Linked DNA regions of Homo sapiens: region 2 is linked to region 1. Evidence: promoter capture Hi-C in 16 types of primary human blood cells and fetal thymus (Javierre and others, 2016). All regions are on one chromosome and are shown on one strand. The core of a region is centred on a gene start or on the middle of the fragment in contact, and the rest is flanking DNA. Distances in the headings are between cores, read along the strand shown. Region 1 holds the start of KDM5C (lysine demethylase 5C). Region 2 holds the start of NDUFB11 (NADH:ubiquinone oxidoreductase subunit B11).

Region 1 (2,795 bases), core at 42-2,541:
ATGATGTGCAGAAAAGGCCTTGACATTGCCTTCAACGAGGAAAAGAAGAGGACAATTCCCTGAACCCACCTCAAGGGAGACAGAGCAATCCCTGTGAGACTGATTTCCTGACTGGTCCAGCAGGCCAGGATATTATCATAGATGAATTGGCCTGGCAAGGTATGAGTAAATATGAGTCAACCTACATAGGAATAAACCAATGACCACATCAAACACCCTCACAGTCACAATAATTACCACTTATCTAGTGCGTACTACATACAGACGCTACCTAGTTTAATTCAATCCTCTAAATAACCATTTCTGGGATCCATTTCACGGGCTCAGAGAGATTACTTCTACTTTCCCAAGGTCACACAGCTGCTCAGCTTCAAAGTGGAGTTTTGAACTCAAGTCTGTCTCCCTTCAGGACTGCGATCTTTCTATTAATACTATACTATGCTGCCTGCCTTAAAGGAAGTGATGACAACAGATTGGAGAAACGTCTTATTTTTACAGCCTCGACCTAGGTGGCCCGGGCTAAGAGATGTGCGGGGTGCCTCTCTGTGAACTCCCTCCGGCCCACTAGGAATCCCTGTCTTAAACCCGGAGTGATTCTGAAGGGCCGGGGTGGGGGTGGATCTCTGACTCCAGGTCACCTGTGGGCCTCACACCACGAGAGGACCCCTGGCCCAACACCCTTTTTCCGATCCGCGCCGCAACCACAACGGTCCCAGCCACCCCCTCTCCCCACCTCGAGCTGCCCTCCGCCCCAGACTTCGCCGCTGGCTATCCTACTGCTTCATTCCGTCTCGCCGCCGGCGAAAACCGGCCCCGGGGCTTACCGCGGGTGGGCGGATCTTGCAAATGCCCGATTTCTCTGCGATGGGCCTGATTTTCGCGATGTAGCCAAGAGGGTCTCGGAACTCGGCCCAGCTAGGCTCGAACACCGGGCACTCCGGTGGCGGTAGGAAATCGTCGGACCCCGGCTCCATGGTGGGCCCGAGGTCTGGGCCAGGGATCGGGAGGCTTGGACCGCCCTTAAGGACTCATGGCGCCGCCGCTGTTTGAAGCCGAGGCAATGCTCGGAGGCTAGGCCCTAAGCGGGGCAGCCGCCGCCCGCCGAGGGCCTAAGGGGGCGTGTGGCCGTCGTGCTCTGAGAGTCTCAGGCTGACTCTACTGCTACCGCCTCTTCGTCCCGCTCCGTTTCTTCCAAACTGTGTGGTTGCCTCCCCACTACCGCAGCCTTCGCCACCACAGTTACCTCCCAAACGCCGCGGCCTTCAGCGCCGCCGCCGCCATCTTGGTTTGTCAGCGTCTCCCCTCCCCACACCACAACAAACCGGATCCTTCCGCGGGGTGTCCTTCCGAGCCTCGTATACGTTGCGTCACACCAAGCCCTAGGAAACCTTCATATAGTGGAGACCGAGCTAAATAGGCTGGTATGGGTTTCTATTTGGAAGGGGTTACTCAAAAGTACCACCCCGGACTGAGAGAAAATAGTTCATTGCAACGGCGGAGGAACAAGATTGTAATTAGTTTGCCGGATCGTCTTTCCGGATGGACCGGCGGTGCACGTTTAAAGGCCAGTGATGCGCATGCGCGTTATGGAGACCGGAAGAGGAGCTGGTGTCCGTGGGTGGTGGAGTCAAACCGGCACTCCCCCGCAGACCTCAACCAGGTCGCTAGCCCCGCACCAGTGTTCTCTGTCCCTTCTCCCTGGTCTTAACGGTATGGGCCGCGGAAGGCGGCTCTGGGAGCCTGATTGCAAAGGACCCCTTATGCTGGCCCGCGGGATGGGGGGAGATGTACTAGGCTCCAGCTCTAGACACTGACACCTCTGGGGCTTTGAAATAAGGAAGGCAGGAAGCTGCTCACTCCCCGGGGATTATGGATTTTTAGGATTCTGAGTCCCAAGTAAAGGAAGGAAATCTTTATTTCATCCAAGGTTACAGGTAGAGAGATGGGGTTTCGATTCTTACCCCCCAAAAGTCACTGGGAGTCAGCATTTTAATGAACGCTTTCAACTGTTCTGTATTCACTTTTACCATGTACACATTTGTGGCATATACTCCTACAAAATAAGCCTGTGTGTATGTATACTTTAACTATTGGATGTTTAGCAACGGCGTATTTATCCAGTGTCAACTGTGTAAAACACCTGTTTGCCCATTTGTGAGCCTACAGTGCACTTACCAAACATCCGTGTACTTTTATTGTATTTATTGTGTATAGCCCCTGTGCATTTGGTACCAACTGTATGTACATTTAGTCCTATCGTGTGCATGTTCCTTGAGCAGTTTCTGAATAGGTTCATTGCAACTACAGTACTTTGAATGAGTATCATCAAACCAGTACTTTGTACATATACATCAGGCATCTACTGATTGGAGGATCATCTGTGTCATTCATCAGCTGTGGACCTACTGCATATAGTTTGAACACCTACTGTGCAAATATTTGAGTACTTGCGTACATGCTGATTAAGTAATTTTGTTTTCCCCCATCAGACTATGAATTCCTTAAGGGCAGGGACCATGTGGCCTTATACATCCTTAGCACTTGGCATGTTAAGCAGTAAATGAATGTTGAGTAAACAAAAGAAAAATGAATAAATGTCCTTAGTATATATTGACTGAAAAATATGAATACTTTTTGCAAACATTTCCTGTTTAACATATTAAACATCCACTGTAAGCTCGAGGCAGATAGGGAGTGTCATACCTTCGTGCAGTTAACTGTTCCTAATCAGATACTGTGCCAATTAGGTCCATCCTGCCTACTTCAGGACTGAGCTAAGGACATCCTGGCTGAGG
Region 2 (3,228 bases), core at 75-2,574, 6.1 Mb before region 1:
TGTATCCCCAGGGCCCTGAACTGAGCCTGGCATACAGCAGGCCCTCAATACATATTTACAGAATGAACAAGCATCCTATATATCCAAGCCCCTTAACCAGAGGTTAGTATTGATGAAGTACTTATTATGTGCCAGTCTTTTCACATAGAAACACCTCACAATATCTCAGTGAGGTGAAACATGGCAATAATAAACACATTCTAGTGCTGAGTACATACTTACGAAGTGCCAGCTGCTGTTCTGACCATTTTTACTCATTTAATTACATGAGGCAGGTGGGGTGTCCTATTTTTTAGAAGGTGTCCTATTACTGTTCCCATCTTACAGACAAAGAAACTGAGGCACCAAGGGTTTATGCTACCAAGATCACACGGGTGGGTAACCGTCAGTGCTGCCTGATTTCACAGCGTCTGCTATTAATACAGCACAGCAGACCTGGTAGCCCTAAATTCAAATACCAGTTCCACCTCCACCATGTATTCAGTTATGTGAGCTAGGGCAATCCACTTAACATCTCTGTGCCTCAGTTTCCTCATCTGTAGGATGAGTATAATAATAGAGCCCACCTCGAAATGGGGTTTGTTTCGAGTATAAGATGAGCTAATGCATGTCAAGTGTTTAGAACACAGACGGGGCCCGGAGCGGTGGCTCATGCCTGTAATCCCAGCACCTTGGGAGGCCGAGGCGAGAGGATCGCTTGAGCCAGGAGTTCGAGACCAGCCTGGGCAACATAGCGAGATCTCGTCCCTATAAAAAAAAAAAAAAGAATGCAGACGGCAACGAGCAAGTGCCATATCGGTGTTTAGTATTATCGTTGTACTATACTGCTTCTAACGTGTTTTGAGCGCTGTCCACTTGAGGTGTGATTTCTGTCTGCAAAATAAAACCAATCCTGCCTCTGGCCCTGGAACGAAGATACCGAGAGACAAAGGAGGAACACAAGGTAGGCAAAATTCCCAAGTCTTCTAGGCTTTCGCCGGCCGCGCAGTCCTCTACTGCCTAAGAACGTCCTCTACAGCGCCCCATCTGCCGATCCCGGACTGACCCCTTCGGGGTTCCGTCCCCACTACCCCCCCCCCCCCCCCCGCCTCTCACCTTCTCATACAAGTTTTCGTCCTCGGGTTCTGGGTCCTCTTGCCACGGTGTGGTCGGTTCTGGGGGCCGCTTTCCCGCCACAGCGGACGGGGCGACCACAGTCCTGGAGAAGCTAGATTCCCAGCGGACGCGGGCGGCCGGGAGCCCTCGCGTCGCCGCTGCCGCCAAAAGACGGCGAGCGCTCAAACCAAACAGCCCAGCCGCCATGACAGATGGTGCTGCAGGGTCTCAGGGGCGGGGAAAGAAATGCGACTGTGCGCAGCTGCAGTGGGTGCGAGCGCGACAATCATCGCCCCGCCTCCGCCACGCTATATAGGTCCCAGATCTGATTTGGTTTTCCAATGAGGCGGGGCGTTGAGCAACCCTCTTTGCCTCCAGTTGTCGTGGCTTCGTGGGGCCAACCATTTTCGGCCAGGCTGAGAAATTTCTTATTGATGGGTCTGCTCATTTCCTGCATAGGAAGAAATCGGTGACATTTGGGTGGATACAGTTCCCAGCCAATCGCCCCGAGTTCCCTCGCCCACTGGGGAAAGAGGCAGAGCTTCCGCTAGTCTTTCATCTTCAAAGGAAATCAAGCTTCTAAAAAGCGGGCCCTGCCGAATTGGCTAATAGCTACTCCTTTTCTCCACTAGGGGAGCGTTCGCAAGGGGTGTGGGGAGGTGGCCAGCGCTTGCCAATCAGAGGAGGCCAGGGCTGTCCCCTAGCGGGCGGTGACCAATCGCCGGGGCCGGCCAGAGCGCGCTTCCTTAGTAGGTGGATGGTGGTCGGAGCGCCGACTCCCTTCTCGTCGTCGCCATTTTGAGCTGGTGACTGTGGCCGGCTGGGAGTAGGCGGCAGTGAGTTTCCCTGGGAGGGCAGCGCGCTTGGCGCTTCTCCCCTCCCCCCGATCTGCCTCCAGTCTCGGACTTGGTTGTTGCGCGCTCCGGCTCCGGCTGAGCTGGGAGAGTTGGAGGAGGTGGCGGCGGGCAGAGGTGATGTCTGGGAGCCCTTCCTTGACAGCCCGGGCCGAGAAGGTGAGCGTCGACGCTGGTCGTGGGGGCGGAGGTAAGGGGCCCGGGGCGGGGACGTAGAGGAGGCGCGAGGGCGGACTTCGGGTCGGGGGAGATGCGCGGAACGGAGGGGTTGGTGCAATGTCTCAACCCGGGAGGGTTTTTTTTTTTTTGGTTTTTTTTTTTTTTTTTTTTTTTTTTGGTGTGAGCAAAGGCGCGTGCGCGACTGGGACATGGGATGGGTGCATGCGGGTTGGGGGAAGGGAGGGACGGATGGGAGTGGGCTACTGTGGATCACTGTGTCGGCTACATCGAAGTTTATCAGTGGGGAAGCGGTTGTCTGCGACTTTGAGTTTGTGCATAGGAGAGGGGATGCTGCTCTGTGTTACTCTGGTGTTTATCGGTCCATGGGGAAATATTCTGTGGTTCTGGTCTCTATTCCTGGGGGATCGGAGGGGGGATGTGACTCTGGTCTTTACCCTTTGAGGGGGGGCGGTCTGTGACTCTGATCCTTATCCATGGGGCGGGGCTTGGGGGACGACTGTCTTTTGATTGACCCTAACCCACTTATTGGGTGGGAAGGGGCATGCAGGGAATGTGTGTGTGACTCATTGCCCCTTCTTTTGGGGAGTTTGTATCTGTGACACTGACGCTCATCCATGGAAAGGGGACCCACTGTGTAATTGTGGTCCTTACTGTGTGTTCCTTCTGTGATGTGGGCCCGTAGTTATTTGGGGCTCGTGTCTGTGACTGGCCCTTGGCTGTGGTGGATGTTACTGTGTGACTCTGGCCCCTTTGCCAGAGTCTCTTGAAGGTTTTTGTGCTCTCAGACGCCAGTGCCTCTGTGTGATTCTAACTCTTGCCCACCTGGGAGCAGGTAACTCGGGTTCCCTGTGGCTTGAGGAGGAAGAGAAAATTGGAGTGTGTTTGTCTGTGTATGTGTGTGCACGAGCATAGAGCAAAGGTGTGGCAGCAACCTAGTGTTGAGCAGGTGCTATTATTGCCTGGCTTTACCTGCTTCTTATTCAGAGGGTGGGGCCTGAAGATCTGGGATTCATCCTGACCTCTGGCTGGGTCACAGGGTTCTCAGGACTCCCTGAGTTCTCACCACAGCCCTGAGGGTTGGATGAAGTGGCTGCTGCTC

Evidence for each region. The method cuts DNA at HindIII sites, captures the fragments that hold promoters and counts their contacts. A CHiCAGO score of 5 or more calls a contact.
Region 2: a contact is called between the fragment with the promoter of NDUFB11 here and the fragment with the promoter of KDM5C in region 1, in 2 of 17 cell types (naive CD8 T cells and erythroblasts). The highest score is 5.9, in naive CD8 T cells.

The regions. Positions count from the first base shown.
Region 1 is chrX:53,223,916-53,226,710 of GRCh38, forward strand. It overlaps KDM5C (lysine demethylase 5C), which reads right to left and starts at 1,292. Exons shown (of 26, transcript NM_004187.5): 1 at 825-1,292. The coding sequence starts at 974. It also overlaps a transcript of IQSEC2 not described here. RefSeq lists enhancers at 834-933, 1,174-1,553, 1,392-1,686, 1,564-1,613. The HindIII fragment of the contact is 15,929 bases long and covers 1-2,795 here.
Region 2 is chrX:47,143,378-47,146,605 of GRCh38, forward strand. NDUFB11 (NADH:ubiquinone oxidoreductase subunit B11) reads right to left here and starts at 1,325. Exons shown (of 3, transcript NM_001135998.3): 1 at 1,096-1,325. The coding sequence starts at 1,302. It overlaps RBM10 (RNA binding motif protein 10), which reads left to right and starts at 1,844. Exons shown (of 24, transcript NM_005676.5): 1 at 1,844-2,108. RefSeq lists an enhancer at 1,868-2,137. The HindIII fragment of the contact is 2,886 bases long and covers 1-1,669 here.